2 separate regions of the Homo sapiens genome follow, and region 2 is linked to region 1. Evidence: promoter capture Hi-C in human tissues and cell types (Jung and others, 2019). All regions are on one chromosome and are shown on one strand. The core of a region is centred on a gene start or on the middle of the fragment in contact, and the rest is flanking DNA. Distances in the headings are between cores, read along the strand shown. Region 1 holds the start of ADAM32 (ADAM metallopeptidase domain 32). Region 2 overlaps ADAM32 (ADAM metallopeptidase domain 32).

The links. Contacts are between HindIII fragments. The study calls those that stand out against the background at their distance.
Region 2: a contact is called between a fragment that was not itself captured here and the fragment with the promoter of ADAM32 in region 1, in 1 of the 25 tissues and cell types used here (dorsolateral prefrontal cortex).

What each region holds. Positions count from the first base shown.
Region 1 is chr8:39,106,054-39,112,649 of GRCh38, forward strand. It overlaps ADAM32 (ADAM metallopeptidase domain 32), which reads left to right and starts at 1,681. Exons shown (of 25, transcript NM_145004.7): 1 at 1,681-1,780. The coding sequence starts at 1,723. The HindIII fragment of the contact is 10,909 bases long and covers 1-6,596 here.
Region 2 is chr8:39,252,247-39,258,332 of GRCh38, forward strand. ADAM32 (ADAM metallopeptidase domain 32) reads left to right here. Exons shown (of 25, transcript NM_145004.7): 18 at 2,168-2,270; 19 at 4,941-5,097. Among named protein-coding and RNA genes, the nearest start is that of ADAM32, 150 kb to the left of the region's middle. The HindIII fragment of the contact is 4,346 bases long and covers 593-4,938 here.

The DNA.
Region 1 (6,596 bases), core at 431-2,930:
GCTGTGGCTCAGCAGCTGCCTAAAAGCAGTGTTAGCTTAGCATTGGCTGTTCCTATTGAGATACAAGCTCAGTGTATTTTTTTGTTGCCTTGTTCCCCACCCCACCCCTCCACCTGCCCCAGATGGAGTTTTGCTCGTCACCCAGGCTGGAGGGCAATGGCACAATCTCGGCTCACTGCAACCTCCACTTCCTGGGCTCAAGCGATTCTCCTTCCTCAGCCTCCCCAAGTGCTGGGATTACAGGCGCCCACAACCATGCCCGGCTAATTTTTGTATTTTTTAGTAGAAACGGGGTTTCACCATGTTGACCAGGCTGGTTTCAAACTCCTGACCTCTGGTGATCCAACCACCTCGGCCTCCCTAAGTGCTGGGATTACAGGCGTGAGCCACCTCACCTGGCCTGTTGCCTTGTTTTTGTTCATGCTATTAATTTCAGGTGTAGATTGCCCTGTTGAAATTGCGTGCATCCATAAAAATCACATCTTCACTTTAAATGTCTTAGTTCCCCAAGTGAGATTTTTCTCTGTTCCCATGAGGCCTTTTAGTTTATGTGTTGGCCTATTATGTAGTATGAGAAATTAATCCATTCTTTGGGATTTGAAAAGAATGAAAAGCTAATGCATACAGATGGAGACCAGGTGTGAGGCTGGGAAGGAGGAGGCATTGCAGTTCCAGGGAGTAAAGCAGTGTTTAGGAAAAACCCAAAGTCAGAGCTGCTAAAACACGGGATAGGAGAAATTAAGTGGCAGGTTCCGGTCTGAGTTCAGAAAAATTACTATGCTGAGGCTAGAATTTTCTACTGGAATGTAATTACTGTAATTGTGGGCAAGAATCTCTAAATCTTTCACTACATGAAATAAGTATTTATTGCACTGAGAAGTTTCTGAACAATAGAATGACATCACATGAGTTTTAGCCAATGGCCTGCGGAGAACCAGATTGGAGGAAAAAGCCTGGTTGTGAAGTCCATTTGGGCAGCGTCAGTGGGGAAAAAAATGCAGCTGGCGCTCTTCAAAAATATGAAGAGCTGGCATTTCATATTGAAAAGCGGCTCACTTTTCCCTTCTTTGGAATGTTCACACATCTGGCTAAATAGTTTTGAAAAAATATTAGAAACAGGTTTGGCAAATATGAATATATATTTAGGTGTGTATATAGATTTTAATTCAGAAAGTATTACACATTCGCTTTTGAAAGGACCTAGGAAGCCCCGAACGGTGGCAGATGCCTGTAATCCCAGCTACTCAGGAAGTTGAGGAGGGAGGATCACTTGAACCCAGGAGTTCGAGACCAGCCTGGGCAGAATAGTGAGCACCCCCGTCCCAAAAAGAAAAAAAAGCAACTGGGAAGTGTCTGGTGCAGGAGAGCACACGCTGACTGTGAATAAGTGTGTCAGTTCTTAAGGTCCAGCAACACAAAGCGAAAAGTTAGTGGAGGACTACGAGCGCGATCTCGACAGAGGGCGCTGGGTGGTCAGTGGCTCCAGCAACCACGCGGCTGGGGTGCGCCGGGAAGGGAGCTGGATGTTTTAGCCTCGGGGCGCACGCTGCGGGCCCTTCGTGTTCCGGACGCTAAACACCGAGAGCACCCCGTCTCCGGGGCCTCCGGAGAACGCTGTCCCATGAACGTGCGGGGAGCGGCCCCCGGCGTCCGCGCGTCCCCGCGTCCCTGGCAATTCCCGACTTCCCAACGGCTTCCCGCTGGCAGCCCCGAAGCCGCACCATGTTCCGCCTCTGGTTGCTGCTGGCCGGGCTCTGCGGCCTCCTGGCGTCAAGACCCGGTGAGCCAGCCCAGACCCTGACACTAGTCCGGGCGCTCGTCACACTGCGGCCCGACTCCCTGCAAAGCCCGGGGCCCTCCCTGTCTGGGTCCCTTTGGTCCTGTCACCCTGGCAACGGGGCCTTTTCCAGGGGATTAGGCGCCCCGTCCGGATGGAGAAGCGACTCAGGGCCCAGCACCAGGGCTCACGCCTGTAATCCCAGGGCTTTGAGAGACTGAGGCGAGCTGATTGTTTGACCTCGGAGTTGGAGACCAGCTTGGGCAACACAGCAAGACCCCATCTCTACAAAAAAATTTAAAAAAATGTTCCGAGGTGGTGGTGCGCACCTGTGATCCCAGCTACCCGGGAGGCTGAGGGAGGAGGACCACGTGAGTCCAGGAGGTGGAGGCTGCAGTGAGCCAAGATCGCCCCCACTGGACTCCAGCCTGGGCGACAGAGATCCTGTCTTTTTTATAAATTAAAAAAATTATTTTTGTGTGTGACCGAGTCCCTTCTGTCGCCCAGGCTGGAGTGCAGTGGGCAACAGTAGGCAACAGAGGGAGACTCCAGATCGTAGTTCTCCAGAACTATGAGGAAAATAAATTTCTGTTGTTTAAGCCATGCAGTCTACACTATTTTGTTATGGCAGTGGGAGCTGACTAATATAGTACTTAACAGCAAAATGATTGAAAAACTGTAAAAGTTCATTAGTAAGAGAACTGCTAAATAAACTGTGGTTATCTCCAAACAATGCAAATGGACCACTGTGGAGAGGGAGGAAGTAAGACATGCCATGTACTGACTCTGGCTGACAAGATTCAGAATAGTATGTAATAAGAGAAGGAAAAAAATACGGGCATATCCAAACATTTTACTTGCATGTAAGCCTCCCTGGTGATACTGTAAATTTTTGAGAACTCTTCCTACTCTTCTTCCTATCCTGCCATAATTACCTCTGCAGCATAGCAGAGGTGTGGTCAAGGCCAGGGTGTCAGCCTGGTTAGATTAGGGTGAGTGTTCTCTTCCTGGCTTGTAAACAGCTACCTTCTCCCTGCGTACTCACAGGACCTTTTCTTTGTGTACAGGGAAAGACAGGAGGAGGAAATTCTCTGATGTCTCATCTTATAAGGGCATGAATCTCATCATGAGGGTCCCACTCTATGCCTAAAACCCTGATTACCTCCCAAAGGCCATAACCAAATACTGTCACATTGGGGGTTAGGGATTCAACATAGAATTTTGTGGGATACATTCAGTTCATAACACATACAAAATTTTAATGCAGTGGTTGTCAAAGTTTTTGGGTTCAGAACTGCCTTATACATGAACAATTTTTGAGATTCTCAAAGAGCTTTTGTTTATGTGGATTTATATCGATGTTTAACATATTAGAAATTAAAATAGAAATGTAAGAATGTGTATTTCATTCATTAAAAATAAAAGTAACGGCCAGGCGTGGTGGCTCACGCCTGTAATCCCAGCACTTTGGGAGGCTGAGGCAGGTGGATCACCTGAGTGAGGTCAGGAGTTTGAAATCAGCCTGGCCAACATGGTGAAACCCCATTGCTACTAAAATACAAAAAAATTAGCTGGGCGTGGTGGTGCGTGCCTGTAATCCCAGCTACTCGGGAAGCTGAGGCAGGAGAATCGGTTGAACCCAGGAGGCAGGAGTTGCAGTGAGCTGAGATGGCACCATCGCACTCCAGCCTGGGTGACAAGAGCAAAACTCCATCTCAAAAAATAAAATAAAAAAAAAATATTAATGAACATTATTTTTTAGAGTACGTTTAGGTTCATAGCAAAATTGAGCTGAAAGAGTTCCCATATAGCCCCTGATCCCAAATATGAACAGCTTCTCCCACTATCAACATCTGGCACCATGGGATCCATTTGTTACAATTGAGCCTACACTGACACATTGTTATCATCCAAAGTCCACAGTTTGTTTGCATTAGGGTTCATTCTCCACATTGCCCATTCTATGGTTTTGACAAATGTACAATGACATGCATCCACCATTGTAGTATTATACAGAATAGTTTCACTGCCCTACAAATCCCATGTGTTCTGCTTATTTATCCCTCCCTCCCCACTGCCCCTGGCAACAACTCATCTCCTTAGTCTTCTTAGTTTTGCCTTTTCCAGAGTGTCATGTATTTGAAATCATATGTAGCCATTTTGGATGGACTTTTTTTTTACTTAATAATATGCATTTAAGGTTCTCCCATGCCTTTTCATGGCTTGATAGCTTATTTACTTACTTAATTGTTTTTTTGAGATGGTGTCTTACTCTGTCGCCCAGGCTGGAGTGCAGTGGCAGGATCTTGGCTCACTGCAAACTCCGCCTCCCGGTTCAAGCAATTTTCCTGCCTCAGCCTCCCAAATAGCTGGGATTACAGGTGCCTGCTACCATGCCCAGCTAATTTTTTTGTATTTTTAGTAGAGATGGGGTTTCACTGTGTTGACCAGGCTGGTTTCGAACTCCTGACTTCAAGTGATCCACCCACCTTGGCCTCCCAAAGTGCTAGGATTACAGGCATGAGCCGCTGCACCCGGCCGCTTTTTTATTTTTAGTGCTGAATAATATTCAATTGTCTGGATCTACCACAGTTTATTTATCCATTTACCTACCAAATGACATCTTGGTTGCTTCTAAGCTTTGGCAGTTATGAATAAAGCTGCTATAAACATCTATGTGCAGGTTTTTGTGTGGACATAAGTTTTCAACTCATTTGGGTAAATACCAAGAAATGCTATTGCTGAATCATATGATAAGAGTATATTTAGTTTTTAAAGAAACTGCCAAGCTGTCTTCCAAAGTGGCTGTACCATTTGCATTCACCCCAGCAATGAATGAGAACTTCTTTTATTAATGCTGTCATATTATAAATTATATGCATAACTACAAGTGCAAGAAATCCTGGCTGTCTTTTTTATTATAACTCAGAAGAGAGAATTTAAACTTTCAAATGAAAATGCCAGCTCCAAACTGCTGATGGTCCCATCAGCTGAGGGATCTTGCTCAGCAATTTGGGGATGGCATTTTCACATTAAGCAGTCACTCCTCATGTCCTCCTGCTTCCAGCCCCTGGCAGCCACTGATCTGCTTTGGATTTATCTGGCAGCCACTGTCCCTTTGGATTTATCTATTCTGGGTATTTCGTATAAATGGAATCATACAAAATATGACCTTTTTTGTCTGGCTTAATTCACTTGCATAATGTTTTCAAGGTTCGTCTCTGTTGTAGAATGCATTAGAACTTCATTCCTTTTTGTGACTGAATAATATTTCATTGTATATATTCACCCGTTTGTTTACTGATTCATCAGTTGATGGACATTTGATTGTTTCCAACTTTTGGCTGTTAGGAGTAATGCTGCTAGGAACCTTCATGTACCAGTTTTTGTGTGGACATATGTTTTCATTTCTCTTGGATATGTACTTACAAAGAAACTGTTAGGCTCAGTGGTATAGGTATGTCCATTTCCTCTTCTGGACTTTGTTATCCCCCAATAATGAGTTGGCTATTCTGGGTCTTTTACCTCCTCATGTAAACAGTAGAATATGTTGGTTGATATCCACAAAATAGCTTGCTTAGATTTTGATTAGGATAGTCTTGACATAGAACAAATTGGGAAGAGGCTGGGAATGGTGGCTTATGCTTGTAATCCCAGCACTTTGGGAGGCCAAGGTGGGTGGATCACTTGAGGCCAGGAGTTCAGGACCAGCCTGGCCATGGTGAAACCCCATCTCTACTAAAAAAAATACAAAAATTAGCTGATTGTGGTGGCACATGCCTGTAATCCCAGCTGAGGCAGAATTGCTTGAACCTGCGAGGTGGAGGTTGCAGTGAGCCAATATCGCACCTCTGCACTCCAGCCTGGGCAACAGAGCAAGACTCTTTCTCAAAAAAAAAAAAAAAAAAAAAAGGAAAAAAAAAAAGAACAAGTTGGGAAAAGCTGACATCCGATGGAGTGGCAGTGACTACCTACCATGTTTTGTTGAAAATGATTCTGAGGCTTTGCCTAAATTTGATGTAAAAGCTATGATACCTGCTAGATTTTTGAAGTGACATACGCATTTATGTATCAGTCTTTTCCTAAGGTGGGATAGTTGAGGCCAAATTTGGCTTTACATCAGAATAATCTCTGGATATTTATAAACATATATATTTCTGGATCAAAATCCTGGAACTTTAAAAATAATTATAAACTTGTTAATAATTTTTATTTAGTAATATGTGATTACATTCAAAATGAAGTAAAAGAGGCTACCCTATATGTTACCATCTTTCCTGATTGTCAATTTTACTATATTTTTAAAGAAAACGACTATGTTTAACAGTTTGATGGTACTCTTCTGGACTTTTCTCTAGACACTTAGATATAAATATGTGTAAATGTAGACATATACGGTCCTTTTGAAGTAAATTATAAATGACAAAAGCATATTGTATAAATTTATGTATGTCATCTATTTTTAATATATTTTGGATATTAATCATTTTATTTTTTCTATATCTTGCACAAGTTTTCTTCAATGTGTTATTGATCTTTTCACTTGTGATATCCTGATTTTTGTACTAAGTTTATCAACACTTTCTTATGGCTTCTGCATTTTGTTTTCCGTATTAAGGCTTCCCTTGGTACAATGATTAAAACAAATAGTTTCCCATACTTTCTTAAAGTTATTTTACAACTTTAGACAACGTAGCCTTTCAGTCTTTCTAATAGTTTTGTAACTTTGTACATGAAGTCTTGTAATCCACACTGTGGTGCTAGATAGGAAACTATATTTGTATTTTTCCAAATGGATAAATACTGATATTACATCATT
Region 2 (6,086 bases), core at 1,516-4,015, 150 kb after region 1:
AGTGTATTTTCTGACCACACTAGATTGAAGCTAGAAGTTAATATTAAAAGAAAGTGGGAAAACTTAAAAAATACATGAAAATTAAATAACACATGAGTGAACAACCATTGGGCTAAACAACAAATCAAAACGGAAATTAGAAAATATCTCAAGACAAACAAAAAATGAAAAAAAAAAGGGATGTGGCAAAAACAGTACTAAAGGGAAATTTATAGTGATAAATTCTTACATTAAAAAGAATAAAGATTTCAAATAAACATTCTAACTTTACACCTCAAGAAACTAGAAAAAAATTGAACAAACTCCAAGTTTGCAGTAGGAAGTTATGAAGATTAGAGCACAAATAAGATAGAGAATAGAAAAATAATAGACAAAATCAAGGAAATTAAGAGTTGAGTTTTTGAAAAGATTAAAAAAAGGACAAACTCTTAGGTAAAATAGCAAGAAAAAAAGAAATAAGACTCAAAATCAGAAATGAAGGAGCAGATATTACAACTGATGTCACAGAAATTTTTTAAGAAGATACTGTGGTGTATATTTATACACCAACAAGTTGGATAACCTAGAAGAAATTTATAAATTCCTAGGATGATACAACCTGCCAAGACTGAATCAAGAATAAATAGCCTGAACAGAACAATAACAAATAAAGAGATTAAATCAGTAAACAAAACTTTCTAGCGAAGAAAATCTCAGGACTAGGGGGCTTCACAAATGAATTCTGTTAAACATTTACAGAAGAATTAAACAAGAAAATAAAATTGCAGGCTAATATATCTACAAACATGCATGCAAAAATTTACAGCAAGACATTAACAAACTATATTTGCCGCACGTTAAAAGAATCATACACTATGACCAGATGGGATTTATTCCTGGGATGCAAGGATGGTTCAAAATGCACAGATCAATTAATGAGATATGCCACATTAAGAAGATGAAAGATCAATTTACTTTATGACATTAAGATGCAGAAAAAGCATTTGACAAAATCCAACACCCTTTCATTATAAAAACTCAATACGTTAGGAATAGCAGAAAGCCTACATGTAAAAATCCATAGCTAAAATTATACTCAATGGTGAAATAATGAACGCCTTTACTTTAAGATCTATAACAATGCAAGGATACTCAGTCTCTGCACTTCTCTTCAACTTGGTACTGGAATTCCTAGATGAAGCAATGAGGCAAGGAAAAGAAATAAATAGCATCCAAATGGGAAAGTAGAAATAAAGTAGCTTCTGTTTGCAAATGCCATGATTGTATACACAGGAAACCATAAAGGTTCCATAAAACTAGTAGAAGAAATAATGAATTCAGTAAAGTTGCAGGACACAAAAACAACACTCAAAAATCAGTTCATTTTTATACGTCAAAAACAGACGGTCAGGAAAGGAGATTAGTTAAACAATCCCATTTACAACAGCATCAAAAAGAATAAAATACTTAGGTTTAAAACAAACCAAGGAGGTGAACGACTTGTACACTGAAAACTATGAAACATGAAAAAAAGTAAAAGAGACACAAAAAATTGAAAGATATTCCACGGATTGAAGAAACTAATATTGTTAAACTATCCCTAATAGTCAAAATTATCTACAGATTCCATGCAATCCTTATCAGAATCTCCATGTTATTTTTCAAAGAAATAGAAAATAAAAAAATTATATAAGATGAAAAAAATCCAGATAATTAGAAGCAATTTTTAAAAAGAAGAACAAAGCTTTTCAAAATACAGTACAAAGGTACAGTAACCAGAACAGGATGTTACTGTCATAAAATAGAGACATATAAAGCGATGGATGAAAATAGCTCAAAGATAGACTCATATATGCTGGCTCCAGCATGTCACTGGAGGGGTCACATTTTCATTATAATTTAAGTATGCATTTTTGAAATTGCATCGTAAATTTGTAGGTAAACATTTCAAGGTGTCAAATTTTCTTGATGCAAATATTGAGAGCCTCACTTTATAGTTCTTTTTTTTTTTTTTTTGCTTTGTGTGTGTGTCTGTGTTGTAGTCTAAGAAACCAAACATTTGATATGTGAGACTGTCGCTCTAAATAAACAAAATTACACTAGATTATGGTACAAAAGTAAGCTTGATGCTCACCTTCTCTGAGAAAATATTTTAAAACAATCATTTAATTTTTCAAAATGATCCTAGGTGTGTGATTCCAGAAACAAGTGCCATTGTTCGCCAGGCTATAAGCCTCCAAACTGCCAAATACGTTCCAAAGGATTTTCCATATTTCCTGAGGAAGATATGGGCAAGTATTTGTCTCTTTAAATACCCATTTAATAAAATTCTCAAATTGCTTATCTTCACTAAAACAAAGTTCGATTTTTCCACTTACAAGGCAACTGATATTTGTAATAAAAAGGTAATCAGAATTCTCTCAAGGAATGGAAACCAAACATGCCATCTTAATCTTGCTCTCTTTTCTTTATAATTAACTAATCAATTAATTTTTTTTATTTCAATAGGTTTTTGAGGAATAGGTGGATTTTGGTAACATGGATAAGTTCTTTAGTGGTGATTTCTGAGATTTTGGTGCAGCCATCACCCAAGCAGTGTATACTGTACCCAATGTGTAGTCTTTTATACCTCACCTACTCCTATCCTTCCCCTCAATACCCCAAAGTCCATTGTATCATTCTTATGCCTTTGTGTCCTCATAGCTTAGCTCCCACTTATGAGTGAGAACATATGATATTTGGTTTTCCATTCTTCAAGTGAAGAGTTACTTCACTTAGAATAATGGTCTCAAACTCCATCCAGGTTGCTGCGAATGCTATTATTTTGTTCCTTTTAATGGCTGAGTAGTATTCCATGGTGTATATATACATCACACTTTCTTTATTCACTCACTGATTGATGGGCATTTGGGCTGGTTCCATATTTTTGCAGTTGCAAATTGTGCTGCTATAAACATTTGTGTTAGCGTCTTTTTATGTAATGACTTTTATATAATGACTTCCTCTGGGTAGATTTCCAATAGTGGGATTGCTGGATCAAATGGTAGATCTACTTTTGGTTCTTCAAGAAATTGCCATACTGTTTTTCGTAGTGGCTGTGCTAGTTTACATTCCCACCAACAACGTAAAAGTGCTCCCCTTTAAGCACATCCATGCCAACATCTATTATTTTTTGATTTTTAAATTATGACCATTCTTGCAGGAGTAAGGTGGTATTGCATTGTGGTTTTGATTTACATTTCCCTGATCATTAGTGATGTTGAGCATTTTTTCATATGTTTGTTGGCCATTTGTATATCTTCTTTTGAGAGTTACCTATTCATGTCCTTAGCCCATGTTTTGATGGAATTCCTTTTTTTCTTGCTGATTTGTTTGGGTTCCTTATAGATTCTGGATATTAGTTCTTTGTCAGATGCATAGTTTGTGAAGATTTCCTCCCACTCTGTGGGTTATCTGTTTACTCTGCTGATTATATCTTTTGCTTCGCAGAAGCTTTTAAATTTAATTAAGTCCCTTCTATTTATCTTTGTTTTTATTGCATTTGTTTTTGGGTTCTTGCTCATGAACGCTTTGCCTAAGCCAATGTCTAGAATAGTTTCCTGATGTTATATTCTAGAATTTTTATGGTTTCAGGTCTTAAATTTAAGTCTTTGATCCCTCTTGAGTTGATGTTTGTATAAGGTGAGAGATGAGGATCTGGTTTAATTCTTCTACATATGGCTTGCCAGTTATCCCAGTGCCATTTGTTGAATAGGGTGTCCTTTCCCCATGTTATGTTTTTGTTTGCTTTGTTGAAGATCAGTTGGCTGTACGTACTTGGCTTTATTTCTGGATTCCCTATTCCATTCCATTGGTCTCTGTGTCTATTTTTATATCAGTACCATGCTGTTTTGGTGACTTTAGCCTTATTGTCTATGGCCATACCAGCCTGAATGTGCCCGATCTTGTCTTGCTCTTTTTTCTAACATTAAAATATCATAATTCACGCTGAATACCTTTTAAAATTTCTCTTTACTGATATCATTGACTTTATCTTTTAGAATATTTTCAACCTCTCTTCCTCAGCTTTATGACTGATCCTGTGACCTCAGCTCTAAACAAATGACATTTTCTCTGTGTCTAGTACTGTTACTGTGTTTCTGTTACAGAAGAAATGAAATAGAAGACAAGATTTTACTCTGAAGGAGTTTATCATTTAAATCAGAAAAATCCATCAATTTCTGCTTAGGAGATGACAGAAGTGATGCTGGCATATTATTCTGTTTGTGCCCCACAGCTTCCATTTCTGTCATTAATTCATTTATTGAGTTAGCAAATGTTTACTGAACTCTTAATATATGCCAGGTCCAGGTGCTGGTCTACACACTGGGGATGTACGGTGAGCAAAATGAAGTTCTTCTCCTCATGGAGTTTAGAGAATATGTTTAGGTCTATGTATCCAGTGATAGCAAGGGACAGAATTAGGATTAGGAATCAATTCTTCTAATTTTTATGCCAGTGCCCTTTTAGTAGTATTGCAATGACCCCATTTACAACATGATCCCCAAGGCCAAAAGCCAACAATCTACCAAAGAAAAATAAGATATACACAAATACACTGAATTCCTTTGATAATGCACCTTGTAAGAGTGCATTTTTGGATAACCATGCAATTACACAATCCCACGTTGTATATCATTGAATTTTTTTGTCCCTACTTAGAGGGTTATAGTGAGATTTTGCTGTAGCTGCTGTGAGACTTGAATACTTTTGAACTTTCCAAAACTTGGTTTCCATGCTTTTAGAATGAAACGTTGTACAGGTAGCCCCAAGGATTATGATTACAATTCTATAATGATTTTTTCCATGTTCCTTGAATAACAATACAAATTCAGAAGATTTTAATGAATGTGTTGCAACTTGAAAGTAAAAGTAGATAGTTTAATTTTTTTGTTTTTTTTTTTTTGTATTTCTGTTTTTAGGTTCAATCATGGAAAGAGCATCTGGGAAGACTGAAAACACCTGGCTTCTAGGTTTCCTCATTGCTCTTCCTATTCTCATTGTAACAACCGCAATAGTTTTGGCAAGGAAACAGTTGAAAAAGTGGTTCGCCAAGGAAGAGGAATTCCCAAGTAGCGAGTAAATTGCATTTGTGTTCTGAAGTTAAACATTAGTACCATTTGAATCTAGTTATATGTAAGACAATATCACGAGCAGTAGCAATACTTTACATATCACTGGGATTTTGAGTATTACATCAATATGTCATTTAATTTTATGAGGTAGCTGTGAATACCCATTTTTAAGACACAAAGATTTGGAAGTGTAATTTACATAGTTTGCCAAAGTCATTGAACTGCTAGTTGAGAGAGGAAGAAGTCAAATGTTTACGTAATATCTGTTCTTTTCTTATCAAAGGGGATGATCTGTATCATCTACAACAGAAGTATTTATTAAAAATGCAGATTTCAGGGCCTTACTACAGACTAAATATTTTAATTCACATTGCTGGCTCATATAAGAAGTAATTTTAAAAATATTCTTTGGGTTAAATTTTCAGAAGGGAAATTTGTAATTTAGATTATTACATTTTTATTTTTCAAGAAATAATTCAAACACTAAGACAGAGAACAACATGACAAACATCCTCTTGCCCACCATGGGAAATAAACAGATATTAATATTTTTCTTGTTTCTCTTATAAAATAAGCCATTGTATTTGCAGCTGCAATTCCTTCTGGTATGATCCCCTTCCCTCCCTGTAGAGGATGTCTACACTGAATGTTTGTGTATCTTACATGTTTTTAATACACGTGGCATTATCCATATCCCATAACCTACCTAGTATTGTTTTATGTATAATTTTAAATAGCTATACTTTCTCTGCAGATGCATTTCTTTTTCAATTTTGGTTTGTTTGTTTTGTCTTTTTTTTTTCTTTTTCATGAGCAGTCCGCTCAGAGGTGTTTTTATTTTGTTAGTAGTTTGAAACATGTAACTTTTGGTTTCATTGTGGTCTCTATTTCTATTGTTTTTTATATCAAGTTTTGCTCTTTTTCCTCCTTTCTGGTCTTTTTACCTTTGCTCTGTTGTAACTCTAGATTTCTTGATTTTAATGCTTTCTTTAT